Linked DNA regions of Homo sapiens: region 1 is linked to region 2. Evidence: promoter capture Hi-C in 16 types of primary human blood cells and fetal thymus (Javierre and others, 2016). All regions are on one chromosome and are shown on one strand. The core of a region is centred on a gene start or on the middle of the fragment in contact, and the rest is flanking DNA. Distances in the headings are between cores, read along the strand shown. Region 1 overlaps KLF9 (KLF transcription factor 9). Region 2 holds the start of ZFAND5 (zinc finger AN1-type containing 5).

What was found. Contacts are between HindIII fragments. The CHiCAGO score rates a contact against its expected background, and 5 or more counts as called.
Region 1: a fragment that was not itself captured here is called in contact with the fragment with the promoter of ZFAND5 in region 2 in 1 of 17 cell types (naive CD8 T cells); the score reaches 5.1 in naive CD8 T cells.

Annotation. Positions count from the first base shown.
Region 1 is chr9:70,391,228-70,395,474 of GRCh38, forward strand. All of the region lies in intron 1 of KLF9 (KLF transcription factor 9), which reads right to left. It overlaps LOC124900273 (a long non-coding RNA gene), which reads right to left. Exons shown (of 2, transcript XR_007061576.1): 2 at 1,830-4,247. Among named protein-coding and RNA genes, the nearest start is that of KLF9-DT, 21 kb to the right of the region's middle. The HindIII fragment of the contact is 782 bases long and covers 2,394-3,175 here.
Region 2 is chr9:72,362,699-72,367,055 of GRCh38, forward strand. ZFAND5 (zinc finger AN1-type containing 5) reads right to left here and starts at 2,510. Exons shown (of 7, transcript NM_001102420.3): 1 at 1,998-2,510; 2 at 772-908. RefSeq lists enhancers at 1,513-2,216, 2,217-2,921 and silencers at 1,529-2,358, 2,369-2,748. The HindIII fragment of the contact is 8,298 bases long and covers 1-4,357 here.

The DNA of each region.
Region 1 (4,247 bases), core at 1,535-4,034, 2.0 Mb before region 2:
CTTTCTAGAAGTGACCATGGAAAACTGGCATGAAGCCATCAGAATAGGAGAACTATTAAGTTTCTATGCTTGTGACTTACATATATTTCAAGTGTAATCAGGGTTTGTTCCCACTGAATTCACTTTCGACCTAGCTGACAGTGATACTCTCTTGACTGCCCCTTGGAGCTGTCATTTTGTGATGGTTCTCCTTGCTTCTAATCCAAGTGCTGTCATTGACCTAGCGTCCTTATCCCTGAAGTGTTTCACAGAGAGCAGAGAGGGACACCCACAGAGCCCCGAGAAAATCAAGAGCAAATAGAAGCTTCGTTAGACTCATGTAACTTGTATAATTCAAGTTTACCATTTTTACGCATTTAAAAAAGATCTGCTTGGAAGTGAGTTGCTAGTATAAAAGGCCCGGGATCATTTTGATTTATCTGGCATCCTTTGGAAAACTTTAAAAACTTTTTGGTCAGTGATCTAAATCAGGGGCTAGCAATCCACATCCCACTGGCCAAATCTGGCCTGCCATGAGCTAAGAATAGCTTATACCATTCTTATATTCGGTTTTTACCAAGTGGTTGAAAAAAATTAAAAGAATATTTCATGACAGGAGAAAGTTATATGAAATTAAAATTTCCTTGTCTGCATATAGTTTTATTGGAAACAGCCATGCTCATTGGTTTAAGTATTATCTACAGCTGCATTCTCAAAACAGCAGTGTTGAGCAGTTGCCCACAGAGACTGTACAGCCTGCAAAGCTGAAAATATTTACTATCAGGACCTTTTGCAAAAAGTTGGTTGATTCCTGATCTCAATCAAAAGACTTGAAGCTGGGTGTGGCGTTGCACACCTATAATCCCAGCTACTGGGGATGAGGCATGAGAATCGCTTGAACCCGAGGGGCGGAGGTTGTGGTGAGCCAAGATCACGCCACTGCACTCCAGTCTGGGCAACAGAGTGAGACCCTGTCTCAAGTAAATAAACAAATAACAGAGGACTTGAACTTCTAACTGGCCACCAGAATTTGTAAATTCAAATGTCTTCAGGAGCCAGACACAGGTCGGGGACAGGGTGGGAGCAGGTGCATTCAATCATGGATCATAATGGATTCCATGGTGAACTGAACAGGGTGCTTCCCCTACTTAGAGGCATTCAATTTCAACATTATAAATTATGGTGCCACCCAGTGGTGTGTACGCAGGCTGGATTCTGCTTAGGGACCTACAATTTGTAGCCCTTTGAAAAATCTCCCACCTTTTTAATACAGTGGAGAGTTTGGATCTAACATGCCATGATGTTGAATCTAACATCCCAGCATATAAGTTAATGACAGTCATATAATAAGGTATTATTTAGAAAATGATAGATGTTTTGCACTTAAGAAAGCATGGAATGGGGAAGTCACATGTAGACGAGAACAGAATTAAGGCTGAATGGGACCAGAGATGATCTACAGAGGAGGAGAGGACTGGCCTAGAGAGACGGTCACTCCACCTTCGTCTGGCAGCCTGGGGGAAACCAAGTCAGGCCCTCTCTTTGAGGCTCGGTGCTAAGGTCTAAAGGAGAATGGTCAGCCTTCACGCTGAACAAATCACACAGCAATGCAACTATCAATTAGAGAATCTTTAAACCTGTCTTTAGTATTAATGAGAGAGTTACCATCCTCCTGGGGATAGGGAAAAAAATACCCAACACACTTGTACCACTGCATTATTTCTGGCCTTCACAGGAAAACACACCCAGAGGCAGTGACACAATAAACTCCACTTTACTGGAGCAGAGCTGTTAACAGCACAAGTTTCTCTGAGTTCTCATTATTTATATACCACTCCCCGCCCCTTTCAGTAACAAGCTAAGCACCTCTTGCTGACTGACTCAGCTCAGAGTATAAAATAAATGTGATCAAAAAAGCTACTGAACACTGCGCACAATGTGTAAAAGACTTCCTTTGCAGAGACAGTCATCAGGCCTCCAGAATTCTCCTGGGCCTACGGAGGGTGCAAGAACAGTGGACTGGGGCCCCCTGGCTATGTGCTTGCCTACTTAGCACAAAAGGACACTTGCTGCTTTTGAGAGGGAGCCTCCTCGACTGCTGATTAGTTGATGATGCCAAATGAAGCCCATTTTTTTGTGGGCAGTCCTGAAACGAATGGAGGTGAGTTCTCCATAGAGAAGACAGAGACCGGGTACTTGCCAAGTGCCAAGCTTGCTCACTGGACATAGGCAACCCTCCCCAGACTCCCTGAGCTGTCCAGGCTGCCACTGAAGTCCTGCCTGGGGTCAGGGAGGCCTGCCATCTGAATGTCGTCTCTTTCCTACCTGGTTCTTCTCATCTTCCCTGCCCCACCCAAGTCCAGGGATGGGTCTAACTTTAATGGAGACAGGAAAGTCAAAAATACAAAATCAAAAGCTTCCATTGCATCTAGCAAAAGTAAACCAATCTGGTAAAAAACAAATCTAAGGGATTTAGGCCTCCTTTTCAGAACAGAGCTCAAACAGTGCCAATTAAGAATTAAAGTTTCTTGCAGATGTAGAAAATCAAGACTTCTTCTAGAAGAAAAATAATGCTCAGCCGCTCAAGATGGATCACTTGAACACAGAAGTTCAAGACCAGCCTGGGCAATGTGGTGAAACCCCATCTCTACCAAAAATACAACAAATTAGCCAGGCGTAGTGGTGCTTGCCTGTGGTCCCAGATACTTGGGAGGCTGAGGCGGGAAGATTGCTTGAGCCCAAAGGTTGAGGCTGCAGTGAGCTATGATTGTGCCACTGCACTGCAGCCTGGGTGAGAGTGAGACTGAGACCCTGTCTCAAAAAAAAAAAAAAAAAAAAGAGTGGTTTCTGATTGCAAAAACAGCACTAGGATTCCATAGATAAAAGAAGAATTTGGGCTGGCTGTGGTAGCTCACGCCTGTAATCCCAGCACTTTGGGAGGCTGAGATGGGAGGACTGCTTGAGCCCAGGAGATCAAAACCAATCTGGGCAACACAGTAACACCCCAACTCTACAAAAGAAATGTAATTTTAAAAAGGACAATTTGATATTATTAAATCATACTGATATTATTCCCCCATTTAACAGCTCATACACACACACACACACACACATTTAGTATCATTTAATATCATATACACACTCTTATCGTGTACAAAATAGTATATGATAAAATTGAACAACCATCCCTAATAAAAGCTTTCAGGAAAATAAAATAATTCCTCAGCAGTATAAAAGATCAGCTCTGAAACCTTTCCTCTGCAAGGTCAACAGTAAAATAAAGGTAGTATAACTACTAAAGTCTAGCCCAAAGCATAAATGGACACCCGCTCCCATTGCTATAATTTAACATTTTCCAGGAAATACTAATGAGTGCAATTAGATAAAATAAGAAGTAAATGGTGAGAAGAAGGGGGGGTTATAAAATAAGAATTATTTGCAGTTGACACAACTTTCTCTTTGAAAAAATTCAAGATAACTGAAAAATCTAATCTAAATTAAAGGTGCATTCACAGATGTAACTGTACAAAAGAGCACTGGCTTTCTTATATGCCAGCCATAACCAGTCAGAATAAGCCTAACAATAAAAGTTCAGGACCTTGGTGAAGAAATGCATAAAGCCTCAATATAAAAGAAAATGAACAAACAAAATGCTTGCCATGCCTTTGGATGGTAAGGCTCAATGGTGTGAATATGGCAATTCTGTACAAATTCATCTACGGAATTAACACACACCGTAAGAATTTCTTTTTCTAGAACTTGACAAAGTTATTTCTGAAGTTCATTTGGAAGAATAAACATGCCCAACTTGCCAAGAAAATTTTGCGGAAGAACAAATAATAAGTGAGCACTTGCAATACTAGTTATTAAAATGGATTATTAAAGCTGTAATAATTAAGATAGTGAGATAGCAGCACAGGAAAAGACAAATCAGTGGAACAGAGTAGGGTCTGAAAATAACCTTAAGAATCTATAGGGATTCTGTACATGGTAAATGGGGTATTTCAAATCAGTGAAACAGAAAATGTTTAATTCAGTAAGTGGCTTAGATGTCAGGTAAAAGAAAAAAATTAAATCTTAGTCCCTACCTCATACTTTTCACTCAAATGATTTCCAAATGGGCTATAAATGTAAATGTAAAAAATAAAGCCATAACGATAAAATATAGGTGAGCATTTTTAGAATCCTGGAATAGAGACTTTCTAAACATGAAACCAAAAGCAAAATCCTACTTGAAGGATAGTTTTGAATACGTAAAAATGTTAAAC
Region 2 (4,357 bases), core at 1,260-3,759:
TTCTACATGGGTTCCCATCTTTTAGATTTTTTTCCCCTAGAAAGCCAGCTTTTAAATGCCATCACATGTGCACAGCTTGCTTTAATATTTCTCAGAAGCTCAGATCACATGGGAGGGCGCTTCAGCCTGTCACAAGGCTGCAATGTGACAAGCTGAGCTGGATGGAGGCTCTCACATAAAGCCTAGTCAACAGGGGCCTCTGAAATCAGCTTCTATTTATATCTCAAAGCCTGCCAACTCCTACACAACCCCAAGAACTAAGGATGCAGCGTTCATATATCTAACATAAGAAAACAAAAAAAGGGCTGCTAGTTTTTTCCTAATGTAGGAAAAACTACAGAACAATCTCAATCTAGAAGATGAAAGCATAGTCAAAGCTAAAATGGTCAAGGTTGTTGATAAAAAACTAAGCACAGTGGAGACAGTGTAAAAAAGAATCCTCATTTAGTGAGGATTTAGGGGATGAAGTGGGGGATGTGTGTTCCCATTAGGTATTGCATTCCCCTTGTATTTTAGAAAAAAATACCATTACTATTTATTGCCTTTAAAGTAATTAGCAACTTGAGCATGCACGTGTCAGCTCTATCAGGTATAGCTAGAATGCAGATTTTATAAAGTTTATGGCTTCCTCTAACTTACAGCTTAAAAAAACACCCGAGTGTAACTGAACAATTCTCCAATTCCAATTCTGAACAAAGAGCTTTTACACCTATGGAATACAGTTCTTTCAGGTGCACATGATGTGATGAGATGGCATGAATTCCCACTCACCTGGGAATGGAGACCTGAGTTCAAGTCTCTAGTCTGCCACTAAGTCAGTGACCTTGGGCAAGTCCTTACTTTCCAGATTTCAGTTCCCTCTTTGCCAAATGGAGTAGAATTGACTTTTAAAGGCTCCTTTTCAGGGCCTGGGAGATAGAAAACAGGAGACAACTACAAAGAATCCTTAATTTTTTAGGGGGGTGTGGGGAAACATTTTAACAAAAAACTTCAAAGATAAAATTGCAGTATTTTCACCAACTGAGTTCTGAAAGCCTACTCTTTAAAAAAAATCCTAAAAATAAGGAATAAAATACATTCGTTTATGTTTTTAGAAGTCTGTATCTAAATCCCAGGTTTAAGAACGGGGATGTGTGACCTATATGTTCCTTTATCTTGGTATCTCCTTAGATGCTATCCCTTAGGAGACACTCAATCAATAAAGATAATCCGACCCTTCCCCGAAAACACACCTCCACGGAGTGCGTGGAAAGCGAGCAAAAAATTTCACATTCATCAGCCTAAATGCACCAAACAAAGGAGGTGTTCCATTTCCTCCATGAAAACGGATCTCAGGATAAAAACGCAGCGACGTCGAGAAGCCCAAAAGACGACGCCGAGAACCCCCGGCCCCATGTTCCAATGGATTTTGGAACAAGTTCGGGTCCCACTGATACCCCATCCCCCTCTAAGCAAAGGCCTCACTCAATAAAGCCCAACAGGGCCCTCTCCGAAAACCACTGAGTCATGCAGAACAGCAGCTCAGCAGGCCCGGCCAGCCCTTCGCCTGCAGGCCCCACGCGGATCCCCGACCCCCGACCCCCGACCCCGAACGGCTCCTCTTAGGGGAGAGCTAGGGGGGGCTGCAACGGGCAGGGGGCGCGGCCGCCGCCTCGGCCTCTTTGTTTCTCTGGGTCGTGGTGCCCACGCCGGGCGCCGCCGCGGAGGCGAGCGGCCTAGAGGCCGGCCCCGCAGAGGCGGCACGCCGTGCATTGTTTCCCGACCGTGCTGTGGAGCGAGCCAGGGACGCCGGGAGCCAGGTCTCGGGCCACGACGACAGGATGACGCCTCCGTCTTTGTGCTTCCTGGGCTGGCGGGCGGGCTCCCCTCCCCCGGACGCCGCCATCCGCGGCCTGCTCCGGCTTCGCCATTGGCCCGCGGCGCCCCGGTCCCTTCACTCCCGCCCCCGGCCCGGCAACAAGGAGCCCGGCTCCCACCCGCAGCCCCGTATCACTCACCCTGCAGGGTCCCAAATGCGAAAGCCGGGTTCGCGCGCGAAGCCGGCACGATGAGGCCGGGCCGAGGCCTCCGGGAAGGCTGAGCCGGGCGCCCTGGTGCCGCCGCCGCGGGCCGGGAGCGGGTCGGAGCAGCAGGCGGAGGTGGCGCCGCCGCCGCCGCGGGGTCTTCCTTTGTTCCTGCAGCAGCGTCGAGCGTGGCCGGGACACGCCGGAGCTCGGGAAGTGGGAGGAGGGAAGCGAGGGGGGGCCGAGGAGGAGGTGGAGGGAGGACCGGCGGCCGCAGCGGCTAACGCTGCTCGAGGCGCTCGCCTGTCGTCGCCTCACGCCTCCACAGGCCGCAGGTTGGGCGGACGAGGAGGGCGAGCGGACCGCGCGCCGCGAGGCCTGGGGCCGTAAGGGCCCGCTGATGGCGCTCTTCGCCGCTCCTGCCACCGCCGGGGAAGCTGCGCGGCTCCCGGGAGCGAGCGAGCCCGCGTAGGAGATGCACACAGCTCCGCGTCCCGGCCGACTAACGCACTCGCCGCCCGGCGCCCGGGCTGTGAGGGAAAAGAGGGGGAGGGGGCGGGACCCGTGCGTCAGCGAAAACCCCGGCGGCGGCGGCGGCGGCGGGGAGCGCGGTGACGTCGCGGGCCCAAGGCCACGCCCCCGGTGCCCTGTCAGTAGGTCCAGGAGGCGGGGCCGAGACGGGTTGCTGTGCCTTCTCGCGGAGCCCAGCCACTGGCCTGGCAGTCGGCCCCTAGGGTGGAGCTGGGAAGAGCGAGTCCTGTGGAGGATGCGTTTCTATTTTTAACCCAATTGTCCGCCCTCAGCCTCCCTCCTTCGGATTTTCTCATTCAAACCCGTTTTTCGCCATCCTAGTTCTCACGCTTTGTCTCCAGCCCTGGGCAGACATTCCCTCCCCCAAGAATCGTAAGGATTCACCCCCAGAAAAGGAAAAGAATTGCCTTATGGCTTCGAGGTCTTTTCTGTTTATGAAACCTCCTCACTCCCCACACCCATTTTGAGCTCCGAAGTCCAGCCCGAGCGTGGCCCTGACGCAGCTGGCGGCGTGCGTTCGCTCGCCCAAGGTCACGGGTGGTTGTGCGGAGTGAGGAAACGCGCGGCCGCCCAGGGCTGCCAATGCCCCGGCGGCGCTGTTCTGAACAAACTGTTTTGGCCAGCCTGTGAAATCCCTGGAAATTGACGATTCCAGCAAAGCGTCGTGAACTGGGAAAGCACCAAATGTTCTACTCAAAAGCCGCGAAGGGACAAAACAAGCTAGACCCGAGGCCCAGATGAAGCGGGAGGAGGAGGCTTGCGAGAGGAAGTTCAAGGGGGGAGGTACTAGGCGGGCAGTTCAGGCACGAGGCACAGGTCCCCCATGGGTGAAAGGATGACTTTACCCGGAACACTGGGAACCTTTTCAGAGCACAAACAAAAAACATTTTCAACTGACCGCTCCAAGTGAATTTCAGTTCAACTCAAAATAACAAAATTACTAAGTCGGAAAGGACTTCTGAAATTTTCTAGTAAACAACGGTCTAACGAATACATAGAAATGATGTTTAGGGTTTATATTAGCCACATATAGAATGGAGAAGAGGTCCCTTCAGTGTTTCTCAAAGTTGGTAATCAGAAAAAAAATCACCTGGGGTGATTAAAGATTCCTACGCATCTCCCCTGGATATGGTTTTGGTTGTTCCGGGGTGGGAGCGGGGGTGGGGGGGGGCCCATATTGCGCTTCAGGTGGTCCTTATTTATAATCTGTATTTGGGGGAATGCTATACTGATAGCTTGAGCCACCACTGCCAAATCAAACAGTTCTCCGCCACAGTTAGCAAAGTACCTGGAGCATAACAACCTTTTGTTTTGTTTTTTAACAAATTCGGGTTTATTACTGTGATCAATTAATGTATTAGAGATTTAAGTAGTTTGGGTCACTGGTCCCACGACCACTGCAATTTATTTCCTTAAATTAGCAGATGAATTAGTAAAAAAAAAAAAAAAATAGCAGCTACCATTTACAGGCCATTTTCAGTGCCAACTATTTTCCATTTAGGGTCTCATTTTATCCTCACAGCAATTCACTGAGATAGGTACTATTATCATGTCCCTTTCTACAGATAAAGAAACAATGACTAAAAAGGCTTGCCCAGGGCACTGAAGGGCAGGGAGGCAATGGAGGTGATTATTATTGAGAACAAAAATAACTTGAATTTTAACTTGAATTTTTTTCTTTCTCTAGAATTGGAGTTATAGTGAGTGAAACAAGATAATTCCTGAAGAAGCATACTTTAAAAAAAGTCTAAGGGTAATGAGGCAAGCTCATTATTGAATAGTGTATTCCATAATATTATGTCACCTTCTGATAATTCATCTTC